Linked DNA regions of Homo sapiens: region 2 is linked to region 1. Evidence: promoter capture Hi-C in human tissues and cell types (Jung and others, 2019). All regions are on one chromosome and are shown on one strand. The core of a region is centred on a gene start or on the middle of the fragment in contact, and the rest is flanking DNA. Distances in the headings are between cores, read along the strand shown.

Region 1 (6,020 bases), core at 3,513-6,012:
TCTCAAAAAAAAAAAAAAAAAGTCGCAGCTACTTGGGAGGATCCCTTGACCCCAACATGTTGAGGATACAGTGAGCTGTGATTGCAACACTGCATTCCAGCCTGGGCGAGAGCGAGATCCCATCTCTAAAATATAAAGAATAAAGATAAAATAAGGACCATAAACCGGCCACAAAACATTTGGAATTACATCTGAATGGCTTCATAATAGTATTACCATTAATCAAATACCCAATATCTACCAAGTTATCTACATATACTACCCCATGTAATAGCCAATTTGACTTGTATAATCTAAATTTACTAAAAACCTTTCAAAGACTTTATGCTTTTGATCTGGCAACTGCATATCTAAGAATTCATCCTGAGAAAACAGAAATGGAGGCTACAGTCTTAAGTATATGGATGTTCATGGCATGTTACTTACAACTGCTTCCAATTTTCCCCAATATTATGCTCAACAAAAGGGAAATTGCTAAATTACAACACATCTATATGATGGTATATTATGTAGCCTTTAAAATTATCAATTTGGGGCCGGATGCGGTGGCTCACGCCTGTAATCCCAGCACTCTGGGAGGCCAAGGCAGGCAGATCATCCGAGGTCAGGAGTTTGAGACCAGCGTGGCCAACACAGTGAAACCCCCATCTCCAAAGAAAACAAAAAAATTAGTCATATGTCGTAGCATACACCTGTAGTCCCAGCTACTTAGGAGGCTGAGGTGGAAGGATCACTTGAGCCCAGGAGGTTGAGGCTACAGTGACCTGTGAGCGCACTACTGCCTAGGTGACAGAGCAAGACCCTGTCTCAAAAAAACAAACACACAGAAGATAAAATAGTGGTTTACAAACCACAAATCATGCTGTGTGCATTTCCAAGATCATACAATTACTGCTATTATTTGCCTTTCATTTGAGGGTCCTTGTATGTTGTGCCTACTTTTTCCATATGCCACCTACAGAGGTAAATTATCATGTCTCAAAAATATGAAGACATTAATTTAAAGTGAAGCTAAGTTCTGATAACTGTTTGAAGTTCACCCAGGCAAGTCTGCATCAAAGCATCAAACAGAGCCATGACTGGCTTCCAAGCCCACACTTCTATTAAGAGACAGAACATGCCCAGCTTTAATCACATGTACAAGCAGAGATGGCTTGTTCTAAATTTGTTATCACTGCATTGTAACTACTATCATCAGACTAGAGCTGTTAAAAATTAACACCTTTTCCAACTATATGCTTATGTGCAATTGACACTCAGGTGAAAGACTGAATTCTAAACCATTGATCACCAATGTAGGGCAGCCATGCAAGACAATTCTTTAACGGTGGAGGAAGAAACTGAAAATATTAGAATTTTCATTTCCATTTATTTTAGTTCGTCCTTCCTTAAGCTCCATTTTGTGTGTGTACAATGTTACTTTACAGATAACATATTATATATGCATATAATGCACGTTATGTGTATTATATGCACATGTGGCCATATATAATGTATACAACGTATCAGTTCATGTATATAATGTATTATATACATAACAGAAGCATAATCTGAAACATTTTACTGATAGGGATACATGAATGAAAGTTTGGACACCAGTGGTGTGGACACATAGTGGCAGGAAAAAATAGCCAGAACATAAAAATATATATATTTCCTTGAAGAAATGGAATCAGAAATGAGAGGTGAAGGAATGGGAATGGAGAATGTAAACAAGAGGAGGAGTTAAACAGTCTAGGAAAGGAAGGGAAGATGAGTAATATGAGAGAACCCTGGGAGGTAATGGGGGGGGACACTCAAGTAAGTAAACATGATATATTTATGGGTAAAAACTATAGTGATGTTTACTATTATGATTTGATGAAAGGAAATGACTCAAGTGTCTAGGGTGGATCCTGTTCCTGCCTGATGGGCAAGCAAGCAAGTGAAAGACAACCGACCACCAGACACCTTAAAATAGATACTGTGTTGTCAGGTTACAATGGAGCCAACAGAACAGACTGGAAAAACAGGAGCTGTTTATGGCTATCTAATACAGGCTTAACACCAGTTGGAGCCCAAGTTTCTATATGCTAATTTGGCTTGGGAAGGAAGTAAATGCCGAAACATTGACATAATGAACAAGAAATAATTTGGAGTTAGCCTATGTTCAATTACTAAGGTATTCCTAACTTTACCAACTGGCAGAGGGCAATGTCTGGCTGACCACACAATAAATCGTCTTTTATGATGGCTGTAACAAGAAATTTAAGTCAATTAAAGGGGGTGTCAGGTATCCCTTTGACTTAAATTTCTTGTTTCAGCCATCACAAAAAGTGCAGGAATGGAAACAACCTCAACCTCTGTCTTTTCCCAAGCCCTAACAACAAAATCAATTTACATTTTAATTTCTTATTTTCCCTACCAGCCGGTGATCATAACCAGGGTAATATAACAGCTAGAGGAAAAAACAATTGAAAAAGCCACTATCGGGCCGGGTGCGGTGGCTCACAGCACTTTGGAAGGCCGAGGCGGGCAGACCACGAGGTCAGGAGATCGAGACCATCCTGGCTAACATGGTGAAACCCCTTCTCTACTAAAAATACAAAAAATGAGTCGGGCGCGGTGGTGGGCGCCTGTAGTCCCAGCTACTCGGGAGGCTGAGGCAGGAGAATGGCACGAACCCGGGAGGTGGAGCTTGCAGTAAGCCGAGATCGCGCCACTGCACTCCAGCCTAGGCGACAGAGACTCCGTCTCGAAAAAAAAAAAAGAAAAGAAAAGAAAAGAAAAAGCCACTATCAAAAATTGAAGAGTTGTCCGGGAACGGTGGCTCACACCTGTAATCGCAGCATTTTGGGAGGCCGAGGCGGGCAGATCACTAGAGGTCAGGAGTTTGAAATCAGCCTGGTCAACATGGTGAAACCCCGTCTCTACTAAAAAAAAATTACAAAAATTAGCCAGGCGTGGTGGCGCGCGCCCGTAGTCCCAGTTACTCAGGAGGCTGAGGCAGGAGAATCGCTTGAACCCGGGAGACTGGGGTTGCAGTGAGTCGAGAACGCACCACTGCACTCCAGCATGGGCGACAGAGCAAGACTCCGTCTCAAAAACAAAAACAAAAAAAGAAAAAAAATTGAAGAGTTTATTTTCTCTATTTAAACAGTCCTTTCCTAGTTCTCCACATGAGGCATTCACTGACAGAACTGGTTCCTGAGCTTTTGTGGATTAACTTTTTAAATTCTTTCTGAACAGCTTTATGCCAAGGTTCTAAAGTTCACATTGTGTAAAGGAATCATACTTCTGAACAAAGTATTGACACGTGTTTACCATAAGACAGCAGAACAAGCTGCAGTTGGGCAATCGTTTTGTAAACTATTTCATAACTGCAGTAGAAAATCAAGATTTACTTGATGGAGACTTGGGAGACCTCTATAATTTTCTTAATGTTTAGACTATTTCCTCCAGGCTAAATTTATTAAGTCATGATCTAAGTGTTTTAGTGTAAAGTTTACAGCGTTAGTGTCACCGATTCTGTTTGATAAAGACTAGGGGCAGCCCCAAAGCATTTTGAGAATTACTTTGCTTAGTTAAAATATGAGAGGCTGAACTTCTTTCCAGCAAGCTGAGTAGGGAAATGAAACCACCAAACAGCACTGATACTAGGCCGTTTCCAAGCAAATATCCTTTTAAAGCATTGAGCTTTGAACTGACCCAAACTCTGAACTGTGACCTGAAAGAAAAAGGGCCTTCTGGCTTACTACCAGGGTAGAACCGAAACAAACAAACAGCTTGAGTTGAACCAATAGGTACTGTTTTTCAAAAGAATTTAACCAGAAACGCATGTGGTGGGTAAAGAGCATTTCCAAAGACCCCAAAATGAGGTAGTGCAAGTCTTAAACTTTTTCTTTCACCGGAAGTGCAAATCTGTGCATTTAAAGGTAAACTGCGTATATTTAAGCAGAAACCCTCTCCAGAAAAAAAAAAAAAAAAAAGCAGAGGAACATCTATCTACCACAGTGATCCAAACTGGTATTTCTGGTTTGCAGGATGTATGAATCCTAGCAAACCCAGGGCTGCTTCTGAGGTCCACAACGATATCCTACACTCGGGATTAGAAACAGGGAAGGGCCAAAGAGCCAAAGGTGGGGAGGGTTAGCGCTGCTCAACAGTCCACGCGCCCCTCACGCTGCAGTGGGTGCGTCTGCGGTCAGGTTCTCCGCTCCCTCTCCTCGTACCCCACCCCATGCTCGGAGTGTGTGAGGGCAGCTACTGATGCCAGCTCCCCAGCTCCTTTCCGGATGCGGGGGTGACCTGAGAATGGCTATCCTTGCTCCCCCCAGCCCCCAATTCTTCACCAGTAGCAAAGGGAGGGAGTGAGGCCCCGAGGCGGGGAGGGCTTAGCTCCGGGGCAGGCCCGGCTCGCTGCCCGGCGTACCTGGCTCTCGGCTGCGGGGATGCCAGACTCGAGCTCGCACAGCGCGCGGAAGTTGTGCAGCTCGAAGTCGGCGTCGACCTGGAGGGAAAAGGTCACCTCGGAGAGGTCCCTCCGCACACAGTACACGGTGAGCAGCATGGCCCGGGCCCGACCCGGCTCGGCTCGGCTCGGCCCGGCCTGGGCGCGGGGCGCAGGGGAAGAGGCGGCGGCGTGGCCTGGCTGGTGCTGCGGGAGGACGGCGCCGGCTGCTCGTTCGCTCGCTCGCTCCCTCCCTCACACACGCTCAGTGAGTCACTCCCTCCCGCCCTCACTAGCAAGCACGGCCGCCGCCACACGCCTGCGAGTCCGTCTGCCTGCCGGCCTGCCTCCCACGGCTGCCGCCAAGCGCGCCGGCCGCCCGGCGCCCCGCCCCGCCGCAACGCGGCTGCCGTAAAGCCCGCCTCGCCTTCCCCGCCTTCGCAACGCAGCGGGGGGCGGGGCCGGGAAGAGGAGGAGGAAGCCAGGAGAGGATAGGAGGGGGAGGAGTGGGAAGGGGGCGTGGAAGAGGAGAGGGAGGAAGGGCAAGAAAAGGGGAGGGAAGGAAAGGAACGCGGAGAAGGAAATCTCTGCTGACTGGTTGACTTAATGACAGAAGTCTGTGGAGGAGTCCCCGGTCTTATTTATTCACCGAACAGGCATTGATTAAGCGCCTACCATGTGTCGGGCGCTGGCGATGCAGAAATGAATAAAAGGATAAATCCTTCTCCGTAACTCTCAATCTAGTACAGGAGTTAGTAATAAAACATATTTTTCGAGGTAGAAATTGAGGCTCCGACAGAGTAATTCACTTCCTGTCTTAGTGATTTAGGATTGAAACCAAAATCATTACCCTCCCTAGTCTACAGAAGCCAGTTGGCTGTGGCCCACGCCTACCTCCCCAGCCCCTTCTTCCGAGCTCTTCCCACATTCTCTGCCCTCCCAGCCACATAGGTCAGTTCCTCCAAGGCTCCATTCCCCTGTCTTGTAAATAATTTTCTCTCTACTTGGACTGTGTCTGTTTCCTAGCCCTAGCAACTCCTACCACCTAGCGCAGTGCCTTTTTGGGCACAGCTTAGAATCTACTCAATAAATATTTGCTACTTTAATGGCCTGTTTTTAAGGCACACAGCTGATGAGTGGTAGAGGCCCAGAACTAAGGTGCGGATGAGTAAGAAAACCAAAACTGAAAGATGAACTTGTAATGGATGCCAGATTAGCATCTTTCCATTTACTCCCACTCCCCCTCCATGGTAGGGAGCCCTTTTCCATTTTAACAGGAGAGAAGGAGCAAATAAGATGGCTGTGGGTGCAGGTAAGTAGGTAGTAAGTAGGCTGTTGGTGGCAGGAAAGGGAGAATTAGCAGCTGAAGGCTTTTACAAAGAGAAATTAGAGGAGCTGGGCGCGGTGGCTCACGCCTGTAATCCCAGCACTTTGGGAGGCCAAGGCGGGCGGATCACAAGGTCAGGAGTTCGAGACCAGCTTGGCCAATATGGTGAAACCCCGTCTCTACTAAAAATACAAAAATTAGCCGGGCATGGTGGCGGACACCTATAGTCCCAGCTACTCGGGAGGCTGAGGCAGGAGGGTCACT
Region 2 (6,015 bases), core at 2,496-4,995, 100 kb before region 1:
GAGCTGTGAGAAAGAATGTCTGTTGTGGAAGCCGCCTGTCTGCGGTGCTTTGTTCCAGCAGCCGAGCTGACTAGGACAGGCCTCCACTTCCTCTTGCTCAAAGAACCTCCTAGAGGTGGGAAGGGTTTCCAGGAAGGCATGCAACTGCCCTCAGGGGGTGTCCCGGTCTGCCCTGGATGAACAGCTGATGCTGGGAGTGGACAGGTTGGACCCCAGGACCTCAGCTCCTTTCTGGGCCCCTCCCTGCTGACCTGATGACCTCGAGCTCCGTGCAGGCATCCGGCGGGTCCAGGGCCTGGGCCTCCTCCTTCTCCTGAGAGGTGGTGTGCACGGGGGTGGTGTCAGAGGAGGACACAGTCTCTGCCGGCTCCTCGTTGAAGGGGTTCTGGCGCTGGGTGGGGCTCCTGGTGGAGGCCTTGCTGCTGGTCAGGTCGGAGGCTGTGGAGCGGGGACCACTGACCGTGTCTGTGAGGTCTCCATCTGGGAGGACAAGGAAGCAGGAGACACCCTGTCAGGCACCCCCCGGGGTCCCCGACCCCCAGAGCATGCGTTAGCCCAGGAGGGAGGCAGGCTGGCCAGTTCCTCCCAGGGAAACCTGACAGGGGTGGCCCCATTTCGAGTAGAAGCCACAACCTAACAGGACATGGGGTTTTGTACTTTAGGAGCAACTTGGAAGGAACACCATCTCCACCACCCCTGGGGCCTCCGGAGCTCACAACAATTTGGCTGAGTTTGTGTTAAGGGCCCCCGCGGTGAAGCAGCCTCCAGGCTCAAGCTCCAGGCTTAAGTCCCATAGGAATGGTGACTTCGAGGCCTCCATGGGTGGCTGGGAGCCCTAGAGAGGAGCCAGGCTGCACGCCTCTTAGGTTACCCTCAGAGCCTTCCTGCCAGGACGCTACAGGGGTACCCAGCAGCCCCGTTAGCCCCATACCCCACTTGTAGGGCTGAGAGGTGCCCAAAGTCCTCTGAAGGGTCCCTTGCAGAGGTAAAAGGAACACAAAGGGAGAAGAATGGAGGAAGACAGCAGAGAAAGTGAGGGGTGCAGAGTGGGGGCAGAGGCTAGGAGACAGGATGGGAGCCCAAGGGGTGGGAACCATGGGGCAGAGGGAAATGCCCAGAGCACAGAGTAGAGACAAGATGACAGAGCAGGGCAATGAGAGCAAGGTGCGAAGGGGCAAAGACAGGGGTCCGAGAGGCCGCCCCCCAGGCTGCTTCTCCCCAGCACCCCTGACCCTACACACTCCTCGGGGGCAGGACCAGGTGCCCCTGCAAGGGTGGTGCTGAGAACTCCATTTCTTTCTTTTTTTTTTTTTTTGAGACGGAGTCTCTCTCTGTCGCCAGGCTGAAGCGCAGTGGCGCGAGCCCGGCTCACTACAACCTCCAACTCCCGGGTTCAAGTGATTCTCCTGCCTTAGCCTCCCGAGTAGCTAGGATTACAGGCATGCGCCACCATGCCCAGCTAATTTTTGTATTTTTAGTAGAGCTGGGGTTTCACCATGTTGGCCAGGATGGTCTCGATCTCCTGACCTCGTGATCTGCCCGCCTCGGCCTCCCAAAATGCTGGGATTACAGGCGTGAGCCACCGTGCCCGGCCGAGAACTCCATTTCATTCAAGTGTCAGCTCACTGACTGGTCCTTTCTGACTCATACCCTGACACGGCCCCCGAGAGGGGAGCTGGCTTGGACATCCCGCCCCACCCAGCCATCTGCCCCTGGTTACTGGAACAGGGCAGGAGAGGGAGCACGGGCAGGTGAAGCACACAGCCCATACGGCCAGTGGCAGATGGGAGCCACCCAAGCAGAGAGCTGAGGCCCAGCTGGTGAAACTGCCTGGGTGAGGGTCAATGGCAAGGGCCATGGCTGGTCGTGCTCTATTTGCCGGCCAATGCTCATCTTGCTGGCCGCTGTCTGCCCGGAAGAAAAGAGGCAAACATGCACCCCACAGCCCCACTGGGGGCCCAACCAGCTGTCAACTTAGTGCCCTTGGAAGCCACAGGGCAGCTGTCTGCTGATGCAGCACACCGTCCTTTTTTTTTTTTTTTTTTTTTTTTTGAGACAGGGTCTCGCTGTGTCGCTCGGACTGGAGCGCAGTGGCGCAATCACAGCTCACTGTAGCCTCGACCTCCTGGGTTCAAGTGATCCTCCTGCCCTGCCTCAGCCCACAGAGTAGCTGGGACTATAGGCGTGCACCACCAAGCCTGGCTAATTTTTATATTTTTAGTAGAGACGGGGTCCCCCTGTGTTGCCCAGGTTGGTCTCAAACTCCTGGGCTCAGGCGATCCTCCAGCCTCAGCCTCTCAAAGTGCTGGGATTACAGGTGTGAGCCTGGCCCTTTTTTTTTTTTTTTAAGTCTGCTGTCTTTTAATATAAGGACAAAAGAGGAGGCTAAAGGCAATGAGTAGCTCTGCCAGAAAAGACCAGCAACATCGGGGACTTTTTCCAGATTTCCGGGGATCTCAGAGCCTAAGTTCTAAGATACAGAAAACCGCGTCTCTCGGTCCCAAAGCAGGCTCCTGCCAAGCCCATGTGTTCTTGCTCCGGCTCCTGTGATTCTCCTCAGCACACGCAGTTGCACCCAAGAGGAGCCCTGAGAGGTGAGTGGGCAGATCATGAGATGTGGTGGGTGTCAAGGCCCGCATGCCCACCAGCTCTGTAAATAAGCCAAAGACCAGGGGAAGGCCACCCCAGGCTCAGAGTTTGGAGCTGCCCCAAGTCCTGCCTTCCTCCAGGTCCAAGGAGAAGACAGAGCCTCCCCGGGTGAGCTGCCAGAGTGAGCTCAGGAATCCTGCTCCAGGAACTCCAGAAATCTCACCCTGCCCTGAGGCAAGCAGTGCAACTGGGCTGTTAGTTCTCAGGCCGCAGGGAGCTCTGAAAGGCTGTAGAGGAAGGTCAGGCCCTGCTTGTCAAGTGACTGCAGCAGGCGTGTCAGGAGGGGGGTTAGTTGTTAGAATCGGAGGGAAAAAAAAACAATATCCAGCATGTGTGCTGCAAGAAGAGGGGCTAAGAGGGTACATGATGTTATGATGGAATTCTGGAATCCAAGCTAATTTAACTCAAACAGGGGACCCTTCAATGCTACTCTTGGCCAAGTGTCATAGTTTATTTTTCCCAATGCCACATCTTATTTCTCACAGAGTTAAGGTATTTCATACTCACATTATCTGGGAACGGATCACCTGTCACCCATTACTCAGCAATCACGTCTCTAATAATGCGGGGAGAGCCACGTGCCCCTCATCCTCAGGGTGTGGCAGTTCTCACCTCCCCTGTTCAGAGGCCAGGTTCCCTCACCTCCCCTGTTCCAGGCTGGAAGTGGCCCAGAGGGTAGGAGGCTCTTTAATAACAGGGATTTGGACCAGGTGCAGTGGTTCATGCCTGTAATCCCACACTTTGAGAGGATGAGGTGGGGTGGATCACCTGAGGTCAGGAGTTTGAGACCAGCCTGGCCAACATGGTGAAACCCTGTCTCTACTAAAAATACAAAAATTAGCCGGGCGTGGTGGCACACACCTGTAATCCCAGCTACTTGGGAGGCTGAGGCAGGAGAATTGCTTGAACCCGGGAGGTGGAGGTTACAGTAAGCCAAGATCACACCACTGCACTCCAGCCTGAGCAACAGAGCGAGACTCCGTCTCAAAAAGTAAAATAAAATAACATAAAGTAAAATAACAGGGATCTGCTATGGCCTCAGATTTAAGGGGGAAACATTCACCTTATTGGCAACATAGCCTTTGCTTTGAGTAATCGTGGCAACCTGGGAATAGCTTTGTGAATTTATGAAGTGGAATTTCAGGCAGAAAAATGCCCAGGCACTGCTACTGCCCAGCAGACAGGGTGGGAGGGCTGGCAGATTTCCTTTTAATCTGCTTTAAAGCTTCAAAGAGATTCTGTCTGTAGGAAGTTTCAGCTGTACCTGGGCAGTTTCCTGACTTGGACCTCAACCACTCCAAAACACCCAAGAGGAAGCCATTAGGAACAGACTGAAAGAATCAAGCTCTTTCTCTTCGATGCTCATCTGACCCGCAGGAGCTTACAACCCGCATGTTTAAAGGCATGGTTTTCCAGAACAAGTCTTGGTTCACTGGGTCAGGCCCTACACACCCCGAGAGCATCAGCTGGCACTGGAATCAGGAAGGGTGACCCTGTATCCCCCGAAATGCAGCCACTTAGTGACTCCGAAAGGCCACTGAGCAAAGGCAGGAGCCCTGCACTGGGAGAAGGGATTTGCCTATGGCTAGAGGTTGAGTTTTCCCACTGCAGAATTCCATCTATTAGAACACCAAACTTGGCTTTATTATGATTATGGATATTATTATAAATAATAAGGAGCTGATTTGATACATGCAGCAAGCTTGGCATGGAAACATTGCAAAACAGGAAAAGAGGGTAACAGCGGACTCTGGCCCACCTTCCCAGTCTGTGCTGGGTACAGACGGCACTGCTGGAAACACATCTCCAAAATCATAATCTACAAAAACGAGGGACAAAACTGAAGATTAGAAACACAGGCAGTGGAAGGATGACTGGAGGGAGGGGAGGGGAAATGGGGTGGGAGACATGGGGAGAAAATAGGAGAGGAAAACTTCAACTTTCTACATTGTATCCAACAACCTTGGGGAAACTTACTAGGGCCCTGACTGCCTCTCAGCTCAGGCGCTGGCCCAGGAGCCTCCAACCAGCTGGAAAGACCTGTCAGGGTGACCCCTTTCCACATCCAGAAGCTGGTTCTGGCAGAGAGAAGCCTGGCTGCCTGTGCCTAGCTTTGTTTTCTACCTCTTACGTGCCTTCCCTCCATACCCTAGCAGGGCAAGGAGACACTGCCCTGGCAGCTGCAGTTGCACAATCTCCAAATTGCTGAGGGGACACCTCCATCCATGGATCCATCCTTGCCCTGGCTCTTCCGGCAAGGCCCACCCCTCCAACTCCTCTAAGGTGGCCCATGGGCCCAACCTAAGGAGACTGTGCCGCCTTCTTCAGCTTGCACGGTCAGCAATGCAGGTCTTGCTAACAGCAAGTTTGAGAGGGACCTCCCTTCCTGGGACATATAACCCGTGGTACAGCAGAAATAAAGAAAGGGGAAGGTCAAGGTCTCAATGCTGAGGCAATTCTAGGGTGCCCCAGGGCTAAATTGGGGCTGGGATCCCCTTCCCTGGAGGTGAGGTGGTGGGGTGAAGTAAATGAAGGGCTCTGGTCTCCTACAGGAGATAAAGAGGGGAAAATGGCCAGTTTTATCCATGAACACCAGGGCCTAAGGTTTGAAAGAAACCAGGCTGTTCCAGTAAATCATTGGGTCAAGACAACAAAATGACCTGCAGCTTCTTCCTCGGTCCCTGATGCAAAGGGTGCGACCATCCCAAACACATCAGCGAGCGCAGAAGGAACTCAGAGAAATCGGACGGACACACAGGACACAGTGGCAAGGTTTCCCTGCGCTTCAGACCTGCCTGGTTCTCTCTTCTTCTAGGGGTTGCTTAACCTCCTTCTGCAAAGAATGTGGGGTCAGACAAGCTCCCCAGAACAGGCAACACTCAACCCTGCGACAAGGTTTCCAGGTCCCACTGCTAAACCTTCCTTGCTTAGAAAACTGCCACAGGCATGTGACTAGAACCTTCTGGAAAAGGGTCTAACCTTAAAAAATATATATTTTATATATATATATATATATATAATTTCAGCTTTTTGTGCCCAGAATCCACTTTTTAGCCACCACAGGGACTCTGAGGAGATGAAGATCTGGGAAATGGCCAGCCCTGTTTAATTGCAAATTTCAGCCACCAGACCAAAACTAGCCAAGGAAGACATCACCCAGCCAGGCTTAAGCAGTTCAAGTCTGTTTCACAACAGGGGCTTAGCTTTTCTGCCCTGGGGCCACTCACCCTCACTAGATGGGGCAATCGCACTGTCATCCCACTCCAGGTTGGTGGAGGTGACGGAGTTGAAAGAGTTGAGGGACAGACTGTCTGAGCCGTGGACCGAGCTGGGAAGGCGGTCTTCAAAGTCCAGCAGGTACTGAGG

Evidence for each region. Contacts are between HindIII fragments. The study calls those that stand out against the background at their distance.
Region 2: a fragment that was not itself captured here is called in contact with the fragment with the promoter of DDI2 in region 1 in 3 of the 25 tissues and cell types used here (aorta, psoas muscle and small bowel).

Annotation. Positions count from the first base shown.
Region 1 is chr1:15,616,200-15,622,219 of GRCh38, reverse strand. DDI2 (DDI proteasomal shuttling factor 2) reads right to left here and starts at 4,762. Exons shown (of 10, transcript NM_032341.5): 1 at 4,412-4,762. The coding sequence starts at 4,549. RefSeq lists a silencer at 4,439-5,008. The HindIII fragment of the contact is 8,472 bases long and covers 1-6,020 here.
Region 2 is chr1:15,719,782-15,725,796 of GRCh38, reverse strand. It overlaps PLEKHM2 (pleckstrin homology and RUN domain containing M2), which reads right to left. Exons shown (of 20, transcript NM_015164.4): 6 at 5,877-6,015; 7 at 4,409-4,468; 8 at 252-480. Among named protein-coding and RNA genes, the nearest start is that of SLC25A34, 13 kb to the left of the region's middle. RefSeq lists an enhancer at 1-473 and a silencer at 993-1,269. The HindIII fragment of the contact is 6,722 bases long and covers 385-6,015 here.